Regions from separate parts of the Homo sapiens genome. Here all the other regions are linked to region 3. The links are contacts of gene promoters, found by promoter capture Hi-C in human tissues and cell types (Jung and others, 2019). All regions are on one chromosome and are shown on one strand. The core of a region is centred on a gene start or on the middle of the fragment in contact, and the rest is flanking DNA. Distances in the headings are between cores, read along the strand shown.

What was found. Contacts are between HindIII fragments. The study calls those that stand out against the background at their distance.
Region 1: a contact is called between a fragment that was not itself captured here and the fragment with the promoter of PROKR2 in region 3, in 3 of the 25 tissues and cell types used here (aorta, pancreas and stomach).
Region 2: a fragment that was not itself captured here is called in contact with the fragment with the promoter of PROKR2 in region 3 in 7 of the 25 tissues and cell types used here (H1 embryonic stem cells, aorta, heart right ventricle and 4 more).

What each region holds. Positions count from the first base shown.
Region 1 is chr20:5,377,433-5,381,054 of GRCh38, forward strand. No RefSeq gene overlaps it. Among named protein-coding and RNA genes, the nearest start is that of PROKR2, 62 kb to the left of the region's middle. The HindIII fragment of the contact is 3,338 bases long and covers 1-3,040 here.
Region 2 is chr20:5,351,238-5,354,936 of GRCh38, forward strand. No RefSeq gene overlaps it. Among named protein-coding and RNA genes, the nearest start is that of PROKR2, 36 kb to the left of the region's middle. The HindIII fragment of the contact is 4,632 bases long and covers 1-3,699 here.
Region 3 is chr20:5,315,441-5,319,009 of GRCh38, forward strand. It overlaps PROKR2 (prokineticin receptor 2), which reads right to left and starts at 1,514. Exons shown (of 3, transcript NM_144773.4): 1 at 1,054-1,514. The HindIII fragment of the contact is 13,355 bases long and covers 1-3,569 here.

The DNA.
Region 1 (3,622 bases), core at 122-2,621, 62 kb after region 3:
CTTGGCAGGGTGAGCTACTCATCCAAATCTTCATGCCTGCCAGCAGCCCTTCAGAATCAGATATCTGTTTCCACACTGAATAAAGGGGCTGGGCAGACCCTCATTGTTGTATGCTTTTGTTTGTTGGAGTCCTGGAGGAAACTGAATACATAGTCTAGAAGGTGCATCTTGGAAGCTTTGGACATCACTGAATTTTTCAGGGCAATATCTGTACCCTATATGTCTACCTTCCCAAGATTCTCTTTTAGGATTGCATCATCATCAATGAATTTAGTTGTGACTTATTCTTTCCCATCTGGACTTGAGTTCTATACTCTGCAGAGTGGAACCTTATAAATATGGGCCATGTGTGCATGCAAACGTAGCTTTGGGAGTGGAATCCTCCCATGCAGGGCTCTGATTGGGGTGGCCTGGGGAGTTGCTGGGGGTGGAAGGTGCTACATTTATGTCCCCCCCCCCACCCATTTTCTGGTGTCATCCACCGTACTTTTACATAATGTGATGGGACTCCAGCAGAACGTCACAGGAACTCCTGATACAGTGAGACCAAAACTACTCTGCCTCTCCCTCAGTGGAGGAGGCTAACACAATATATATATTTTATAGGGACAGGGTCTCAACGTGTTGCCTAGGCTGATCTCAGACTCATGGGCTCAGCAATCCTTCCACCTGGACCTCCCAAAGTGCTGGGATTACAGGCATGAGCCACGACACCTGGCAGCCAATATATTTAAAATTAAAAACACATACACCTTCATCCTAGAGATTCCACTTCTAGAATATTTTTTACTTGTTATTTACCACATTTTTAGTAGAAAAATATCTGAAACATCATGAATACATATTAACAACCCATTGATTTAATATATGGTCATTCTTTCCAGGCAGTGTCAAGTTGCCTTTAAACATATGTAGTAGAACTAGATCAGTTGATATGACAAATCTAAATGCTTAGAAGGTGCCTGAAACATATTATGTGTACAATAACTAATGGCTTTAGTTGTCATAAGAAAGAAAAATAAAAACACAGGTATATGGCTATATATTACATATATATCTACATGTATGTCTATATAAATGAATATATATCATTTATAGCTGTAAAACAACATAAAAATCCTTTTTATATGTGAATACATACATATGTATGATTAGGTGAACACAGAGAACATTGTGGATGGATACCATACCAGCTTGTGAATGATGAGATACCTGGAAGGGTGAAAAAGAGGGAACTGGAGGTAGGGGGAGAAAGACAAAACAGATAAAAGTGTCCAAAATAAAACATCTTTGAAAGTTTATATATGTAAATATACAGAGAAAGAAAGAGAAATGAAAAGCTGGTTATCAAACTATAAATGGTAATGAGGGTCTCAGAGTTTTTTCCTAAATTCTTTCTTTTTCTTTTCTCTACTTTTTGAATTTTCAGAAACACTGAACGTGTGTTATTCATATAGCTGGAAAATAAACGCTATTTTCGATTTTGAAAAAACAATATGAATAGTAAAGCTATCTCTCTGATCCTTTAACGATTAAGAAAGGCTGATGATGATGATGATGGTGATAGTAATGAGTGGCTAACATTATTTGCACACTTACCGTGTGTCTGACACTGTTGGGGTTTTAGAAGTAATAAGCATCTTTATTCTTTTAAGTATTTACAAATGCTTCCAATCCTAAAGCTGAAAAAACCCTCAGCTCTCTGACCCCAAATGCTCATTTCACATATGAAGGATTTGAATGAGGAGAAATGCAAGGACTTCCTTACTGATGTCTCCATTTGGAAGAGCTGAGTCTCCTGACTCACAGTTAGATGCTCATTCCACCACCTGTAAAGAACAATCCCTCTCTATCAGCACATTTGAAAACCACAATTCCAATCCAGGGACTTGGGAGTGTGTTACCATAGTCATTATTTTTATGAACTTATTTCTTTCTAATGCCCTATCAAAAAGAGAAAATGCTAAATTCTTAGAAACAACTGACTTGAAAGAGGAGAGTGAAGCTTTCTGAAATGATAGAAATGTTCTAAGTTGTGGCTGGGCACGGTGGCTCATGCCTGTAATCCCAGCACTTTGGGAGGCTGAGGTGGCCGGATCACTTGAGGTCAGGAGTTCAAGACCAGTCTGGCCAACATGGTGAAACCCCATCTCTACTAAAAATACAAAAATTAGCCAGGCGTGGTCGTGGGCACCTGTAATCCCAGCTACTAGGGAGGCTGAGGCATGAGAATCGCTTGAACCTGGGAGGCAGAGATTGCAGAGAGCGGAGATTGTGCCACTGCACTCCAGCCTGTGCCACTGCACTCCAGCCTGGGTGGCAGAACGAGACCCTGTCTCCAAAAAAAAAAAAGAAAAGAAAAGAAAAGAAAAGGAAATGTTCTGTTCTAAATTCTGATTGGGGTGGAACTTGCACAGGCATAACTTAGAGGTATAAAGCCATCAAGATGTATGTTTAAGAATTGTAAGTATTGTATCCTTCATCATATATGAATTATGCTTCCATAAAACACAGTTAAAAAGAGACATACTAGTTGGGGACACTGTCATATACATAGTTTCAAAAGAAGGTGTGTTAGCCCCTTCTTGCATTGTTATAAAGAAATATATGAGGCTGGGTAATTTATAAAAAAAGAAGTTTAGTTCCAAGTCTTTGCTATTGTGAATAGTGCCGCAATAAACATACGTGTGCATGTGTCTTTATAGCAGCATGATTTATAGTCATTTGGGTATATACCCAGTAATGGGATGGCTGGGTCAAATGGTATTTCTAGTTCTAGATCCCTGAGGAATCGCCACACTGACTTCCACAATGGTTGAACTAGTTTACAGTCCCACCAACAGTGTAAAAGTGTTCCTATTTCTCCACATCCTCTCCAGCACCTGTTGTTTCCTGACTTTTTAATGATTGCCATTCTAACTGGTGTGAGATGATATCTCATAGTGGTTTTGATTTGCATTTCTCTGATGGCCAGTGATGATGAGCATTTCTTCATGTGTTTTTTGGCTGCATAAATGTCTTCTTTTGAGAAGTGTCTGTTCATGTCCTTCGCCCACTTTTTGATGGGGTTGTTTGTTTTTTTCTTGTAAATTTGTTTGAGTTCATTGTAGATTCTGGATATTAGCCCTTTGTCAGATGTGTAGGTTGTGAAAATTTTCTCCCATGTTGTAGGTTGCCTGTTCACTCTGATGGTAGTTTCTTTTGCTGTGCAGAAGCTCTTTAGTTTAATTAGATCCCATTTGTCAATTTTGGCTTTTGTTGCCATTGCTTTTGGTGTTTTGGACATGAAGTCCTTGCCCACGCCTATGTCCTGAATGGTAATGCCTAGGTTTTCTTCTAGGGTTTTTATGGTTTTAGGTCTAACGTTTAAATCTTTAATCCATCTTGAATTGATTTTTGTATAAGGTGTAAGGAAGGGATCCAGTTTCAGCTTTCTACATATGGCTAGCCAGTTTTCCCAGCACCATTTATTAAATAGGGAATCCTTTCCCCATTGCTTGTTTTTCTCAGGTTTGTCAAAGATCAGATAGTTGTAGATATGCGGCATTACCCAAATGTCCAACAATGATAGACTGGATTAAGAAAATGTGGCACATATACACCATGGAATACTATGCAGCCA
Region 2 (3,699 bases), core at 333-2,832, 36 kb after region 3:
TCAGTGCATGAGATGAGGAACGTTAGTGACCCGTGTGGTTGTGTGGATTAATTTCTAAAACCTCACTTGGAACAGAGTGCTAACAGTTGCAAATGATTAGGAGTTTATGAAGTGCTTTAAAATACATCTTGGTAGTGTTTTAGGGTAAAGTTTTGTCAGTGTAATTTAGTTTTTAATTAATGAATGACTTCCCCAGATTGTTTTTTAAAAAAATACCGGTTTCACCATTTTTTTCCCCTAGAGGACCCTCTTAAATCATGTTTGGAATTTCATAAAAGAGAAAATGTCTGTGTGATTATTTGTTCTCCATAAGGTGGTAAATACATGGGCAGAGCTTTTAGAGGAAGTGATTTTATTGAGTAAAATGAGCCTCTAGGAGATGCTTTGAACTTACAACGAAGACATTCACAAATCATTACAGCTGCTTTCCAGAAAGCACAAATACTTATTACATATGCCTGGCTTAACCTGAATTTTAGATAAGTAACACAAAGGAGAAACAACAACAGAAAAACCCAACATGATCCGCATTTATTCAAACCCCACATGGCATGGTGCAGCCCCTCTGCTGTTATAATTGACAGGGTAGTTTAGGAAAGAATAATGCTCCCCTCTGACAGTTGCAGGGCCTGGTCTTATTTTCATTACACAGATTGGGGTTTAATGGGAAAATCCCACTGCAACTCTATCCTAATTAGATTCCTGGGTTTTGGGGTGAAAGGAATATTCAAGGTCCTTTTGTACAATCTGCCTATTTGACGGTAAGTGAAATGAAGCCCACAGAGGCTAAAGTGACCTCCCGAAGGCTGTATGCTGGGTTAGTGAAAAAGCTTGGCTGTGAACTTGGAGTTCTGGGCTTTTTCCAGGGACAAGGTGAAAGTCTAGCAGAGAGCTGGTCTCCGTGGAGAGGGTCGGGAAGTGATGGGAGCCTGAGGACCTAAAGCAGCTCAAGCTGTTTTCCAAAGCGAGGTAGGCTCACACTGGAAAGCTTGAGCATTCCAATCTGGCCTCCTTCACTGTTTCTCCTACAGCATATTCAGACTGGAGTATTGTATTAGTCCATTTTCATGCTGCTGATAAAGACATACCCGAGACTAGGAAGAAAAAGAGGTTTAATTGGACTTATAGTTCCACATGGCTGTGGAGGCCTCAGAATCATGGCGGGAGGTGAAAGGCACTTTTACATGGGGGCAGCAAGAGAAAAATGAGGAAGATGCAAAGGTGGAAACCCCTGATAAAACCGTCAGATCTCATGAGACTTATTCACTACCACGAGAACAGTATGGAGGAAACTGCCCCCATGATTCAAATTATGTCTCATCAGGTCCCTCCCATAACACGTGGGAATTATGGGAGTACAATTCAAGATGAGATTTGGGTGAGGACACAGAGCCAAATCATATCGAGTAGAGTTTGATTAAAATATCATTTTATTATTATTATTATTATTATTATTTGAGACGGAGTCTTGCTCTGTCGCCCAGGCTGGAGTGCAGAGGCGCGATCTCGGCTCACTGCAAGCTCCGCCTCCCGGGTTCACGCCATTCTCCTGCCTCAGCCTCCCGAGTAGCTGGGACTACAGGCGCCCACCACCAGGCCCAGCTAATTTTTTTTTTTGTATTTTTAGTAGAGACGGGGTTTCACCGTGTTAGCCAGGATGGTCTCGATGTCCTGACCTCGTGATCCGCCCGCCTCGGCCTCCCAAAGTGCTGAGATATCAGGTGTGAGCCACTGCGCCCAGCCTAAAATATAATTTTTTAAAAAGTAAAATATAAAGACATACCTATTGCTTGCATAATGCATATGTTCTGGAAAAATCTGTGGATTTTCTTCTTTACATCTTTCTCTACCAATTCAACTCAGTGCACTAGGTTTTGAGAGCCTGCCACTTGCCAGGCACATAGCTAGATGTTGGGGATTTGGCTGTGATCAACACTCTCTCTACTCTCATGGTGATGAACAAGGACAGATACTGAATCATCTTGAAGGGGAAATGCATGGCGTTGAGAGGTATGTAGCAGGGTACTGAAGCTACAGAGAAAGATCCAGCTAAGCCAGGAATGGCAGGAGGAGGTGGCTTTAGCAGGGGACATGCTGGGCTGGGGACAATGTCCCAGAAAATAAAGTATGATGTGCAAAGCTTGTATTCCAGAGACACAGTGTCACTGTCAAGGAGGCCTCTGCATCTTCATCCCTCAAGATCTGAACTGCTCAACCCTAGGTCTGTGAGCCAATAATTTTTTGTGTGTCTAATCTTTTTCAAACCACACTAAACATATTTCAGGAGACAAGTATAGCCAAAACACAATTATTATGCAGTGGTTTATCAGAGAAATACAAGGAAAATTTTACAATCTGTTGCTGTCCTCAAAGAGGCTTAGCCCCACTTTTCCATGTTTCTATCAGAATAGGATAGAATCACTGAGTATAGATTGATTAAAATAACATTTTTTAAAAAGTAAAATATAAACACTTTCCTATTGCCTGCATAATGCATATGTTCCAGAACAAATAGTAGAAAAATAAAATATTTCCTGTGTGAGTCACCTTTTCTCTAGACTGTACTGTTAGTGTCTTCAGCCTTTCTTTGAATCAGTTGTTTTCCAGATCATTCTCCACCTCACCCTCTGATCATTATAATGTGGATATAACTCAGAAACGGCCCCCACATTTCCCCTCTTCGGTTGTGGGGCGGGGGGGAAGACACAAACACAGAATTTAAAATTTAAATGTAAATGTAAATTAAATTAATTAATTGCTTATACAATAAGCAAATAAGTTAATTGCTTACTTTTGTAGTGGTGGGGGAAGATATGAACACAGAATTTTAAATTAAAATTTAATTAAATTTAAAAAATTAAAATTAAATTTAATTAAAAAAATAATTTTAATTTAAAATTCTGTGTTCATATCTTTTCCCCACCCCTACAACCAAAGAGGAGAAGTGTGGGGGCTGTTTGTGAGTTCCACAATATAATGATCAGAGGGTGAGATGGAGAGTGATTTGGAAAACAACTCATTCAAGGAAAGTCTGACGACACTAACACAGTATAGTCTAGAGAAAAGGTGACTCACACAGGAAATAATTTTATTGTACCAGTCAGGGAATTTTACTTCAACCAGCAGAAACTACTGCTGGCTGTCTTAAACCAAAGTGACATTAATTGAAAGGGAATTTGGGCTTGCACAAGTAGGGGTTAAAATTAGAGACTGGGGTGGAAGATTGGGTAGAAAGTAAGGGAAGTGTAGGCATGGTCAGGACCCAGGAAATGCCTCCTACAAATGCCACCAAGGTCTCCCAATATCCCCTCCATGTTTGTGGTACTTGCTCAAGTCCTAGACAAGTAAGCATCCTACTGTCTAAGGGTACATACTGGACCCTGTCTATGCAGAAGGAGGCAGAGGAGGCCAGCACTGGGAAACACCCTTATATCAAGACTGTACAATATAGGAATATACAAATTGGGAATGCAGCCAACAGTGGTTTGTTTTCTTGCTTATTTTTGTCCTTGCTTGTTCATTTTCTCTCTCTTGCCTCTGGGGTATAACCTCTTCAACAACAGGAACTTCATCTGTTGTCTGCCTCTGGATCCCTAAGCCCTCAAGAGTAGACATTCAGTAAATAGCTGTGGAATGTATTACTGGAGGAACATTCAGGGGACATAAACATATTCCACATTGTTCTATGTGTAGACAAAG
Region 3 (3,569 bases), core at 264-2,763:
GAGGGGCTGGAAAAAGAGCCCAGATCCCAACACCTATAGAAAGGGGCCCTGGCTGTCCAGCTGTGAGTGGCCTTCCCCTCGCCTCTCAGCACACCTGGAAACGACTCCACATGTGGGCGCCGCGGGATGCTGGGTAGCAAGGAGATGACCCAGCTGAACAATGCATTTGGTCCACTCCTGCGAGGGGAGGAGAACGCCGAGGGACAGGAACTGCGCGCCAGCAAAAGACACCCTAACCTGGGGTGCGCCCGCCAGCTGCTTTCCCAAGGTGAAAACCTCCAAGAGGCGAGATGCAAATCCCAGTGGCGTCCACACCCGGAGGTGTCTTCTCTCCAGGTCGCCCCTCCGTCTCATGCGACACCCCAATCCCCGCAGCCTCTGCTCAGCGTGGGACCAAGAATGGGGAGTCCTACCCCTCCTCGGCTTTCCAGCCCCCTAACCCAAGACAAGAGGGCGCGCGCCCGGGCTGGGACAGGTCCCAGCCGCATTTTCGTAGATTGCACTCCCCGCCCGGGAGCGACCCGTTCCAGCAGCCCCCTTCCCGCCCCATCAACGCGGCCGCACTGTCGGCGTCTAGAGGCGACATCCTGGCAAAGACAGGAATCAAGTCAGAAATTCAGGCTCTAGAAGCAAAGGCTGCGGTGCCTCCTGGCTGGAAGAAAACGGCGGGTGGGTGGAGGATGCGGTGCGCGGGAATTTCCCCACGGACGCTTGCTGTTTCCTGCTCACCTTTCAGGAAGGTGCCCCTCTACCTGCACCCTCCCCTGCAATTTGGAGCTCGTCCGCGAGCTCAGCTACCCGCTGGCTCCCTCTGCCCGCGCCCGCACACCACAGACTCCGCTTACCGTACCCTACCCGGTCCTAGAGGGCCCAGAGGGGATCTCCTGAAACCAACTCGCCTGCTTGGAGCCAGCCCCGACGCATATCTCGAGAGTGGCGGGAGGCAAAGCAGCCGGAATGCCCGAGAAAAAAGTGGGCGTCAGAGGCCCTTGTCCTAGCGACTCCCCCACCGCACCGACTGAGTCCCGGGACTGCAGGGATCTAAGCCCTTACCTGTCTCGGCGCCTCCTTTCTGTGCGCTCTGCTGCTCCGGAAGCCGGATCGAGAGTCACAGTGTGGTTGGGCGCAGGCGGGCCGCTCGGTTTTCACCTCGAGGACCCGGACTTGCACTTGCAGAGCCGCTGCGTGGGGGATGTCCCTCTTTTTTCCTCGCCCCGGCGGGCTCCTCCGGCGTGTCAGGGTCTCTGGGTTCCAGCTGGAGTTGGCGCTCCGGCCCCACAGCTCTTTCCAGCGTCTCGGACCTGTGCGCCCCGCCCCGCGCTGGACTCCGCCCCGGGGTCCCCGCCTGCCTCCTAGTCCAGGCCAAGGGTGGATGCCCAGCTCCCCCACCCCACCGCGTGCTCTCGGGCTGGTGCGTCCAGGGCGCGGGCACCGTAGCTCCGGCCGCGCTGACGCGAGTCCCCGGCAGCGGGGGCAGCCTCTCGCACGGATTTCAGCGCCTTCGCATCCCGTCTGAATCGGACCACACAGTAGCCGGGTTTCTACCGTGCGCTTGGGAACAGTGAGCACCGCCCTCTGCCGCCAGTCGTGGCACCGCACCCGGGTCGCGCGCGCAGGAGGGGAGAGTCCTGTCTTCCGGAGGTGCCCAGTGCCAGCGTCCGCGCCCACTAGAAGGTGACCCTTTCAAGGAAAGCCCGGCTCCGACGAGTGCGGTGTGGGCCTTTGGAGATGGCGGTGAAGGAGGAGGCCCCCAGGAGGAAGCTGGGGATGGGGACAGTTTGCTCTGCTCAAAGCCCCTGAAGTCCTCACCCAAACTTTGCGATGACCACCACTATCAGATTCCATGGCCGTATAAAGACAATCCCAGGAGTGCCTCAGCCCATCTGTCCGGAGAGTCTGGAGCCCTTCACTTTGCTTCTGACAGGTTCGAAATCCTCCCACGACCTTCCTGGTTAAACACAGGAACTGCCCATTCAAATGACTGGTGCCCAGGAAGCTCTGGGCATACAGGATTGAACCTGTGGCAGGACCCTGAAGGTCTAAAAAGGTGTTCCCCATCGTTAAACCCCAGCCAGCGGATTATTGGCAGGTGGGAACATGGACTCCACTTTGTCAGAGCTTCCCATTGTTTTCAAGAGAATCTGGAATTCGAGAACTTTAAAAATAGTCTTTGGGTTCGTTAAAGCAAAAATCTTGTTTTGGTCAAAGAGAACCTGTCTCAGACTGAACACAGTCCACAAGGCTGCCAATTAAAAATTTTTGGATAAATGAACTTCAAACTCCTTCAGGTTGTGACATTCTGTGATTCTGCTTTTCCCACCTTACCTGGAACCTGACCCCACTCTCCCTACCTCTTAGCATCTCTCCCGCATGATCAAAGGCAAGAGAGCCAGCTGTTTGCTTTCCTCCTGGGGAGGGGCTGCGATTGGGCAGGTGTTCTACATGCTCAGGGCAACTTCCAGATATGGAGGCAAAAAAGCTCTGTTGCTTGAGTGGGGGAGATGATGGGGTGGCCAGTTGTACGCCCTGGACACATTCTTTGCAATAGTGCATACTTACCAACTTCAGCTAGAGGCTTCTTCGCTCATGGACCATGCCTGCCCTATTCAATGGGGGCAAACAGACCCCTGGGACCATCTGCCCGCTGGTGCTTTCATGGAATCCTCTGAGATGAGTTAAGGCATGGTTGCTTCCACACAGATCTGGCGACCCACAGATGTCGCTGTAGTAACTCCAAGTCCTGACCACCCTCAGCAGAGTAGGAGCTTTTTCTGGGGATGGACATGTGGTCCCCAGGGAGACAGTGGGTGCTTAGAAAACAGTGCAACAGAGTGCTACGGGGAGTTGTCTTAGTTTAGGTTTCCCCCAAGGAGACTCCCAGACAAAGACCTGAGTGCAGGTAGTTTATTGGGAGCAGATCCCGGGAAGCACACACAGGGGGAGGGGAAGTGAGGCAGGGAAGGGAGAAGGGCCCATACACGATATGCTAACGAGCAGGGTGCCACTGCGGCTCACTCCAGTTGACCTGCAGACCGTGTAGAACATGCCTCATGGTTGTTCACAGCAGCGCGGGGAGGCTGGACATTCAGCCATCGATTCCTACCCCCTACTGATGGACAGATTCCCTGAGAGCCAGAATTTCCCTCACTTTTGAGTTGTGTCCCGGTGTGGTGCAGAAAGCCCAAGGCTGAAAAGAAGAGAGCTTCAGGCCTTGGATGGGAGGTGTCATGGTGCCTGGAACTGCATCTGCAGGTGAGCAGAGGAGATTCTGGGCAGGCCGTCACTCTCACATCTGCTACAGGAGGGCAGCAGAGGGGACATTGCCTTTGATGAGGCGGGCAGGAGCCATACTTCTGCTGGAGTTCATAGACTGAACTGGGTGTGAACCCAGAGAAACTGGGTGGGCTGAGTGGGATTTTGAGAGGGGCTGGAGACTTTGCATTATATACTTGGAGGCAACTTACATCCCCACTTGGGCTCACAAAGCTGGCAAGAACTGGGGAAATGGAGATGACTTCCCCTTCTAGTCAAAGAGATTTCTCTAATTGCAAGTCCAAAGTCTCTTCTTG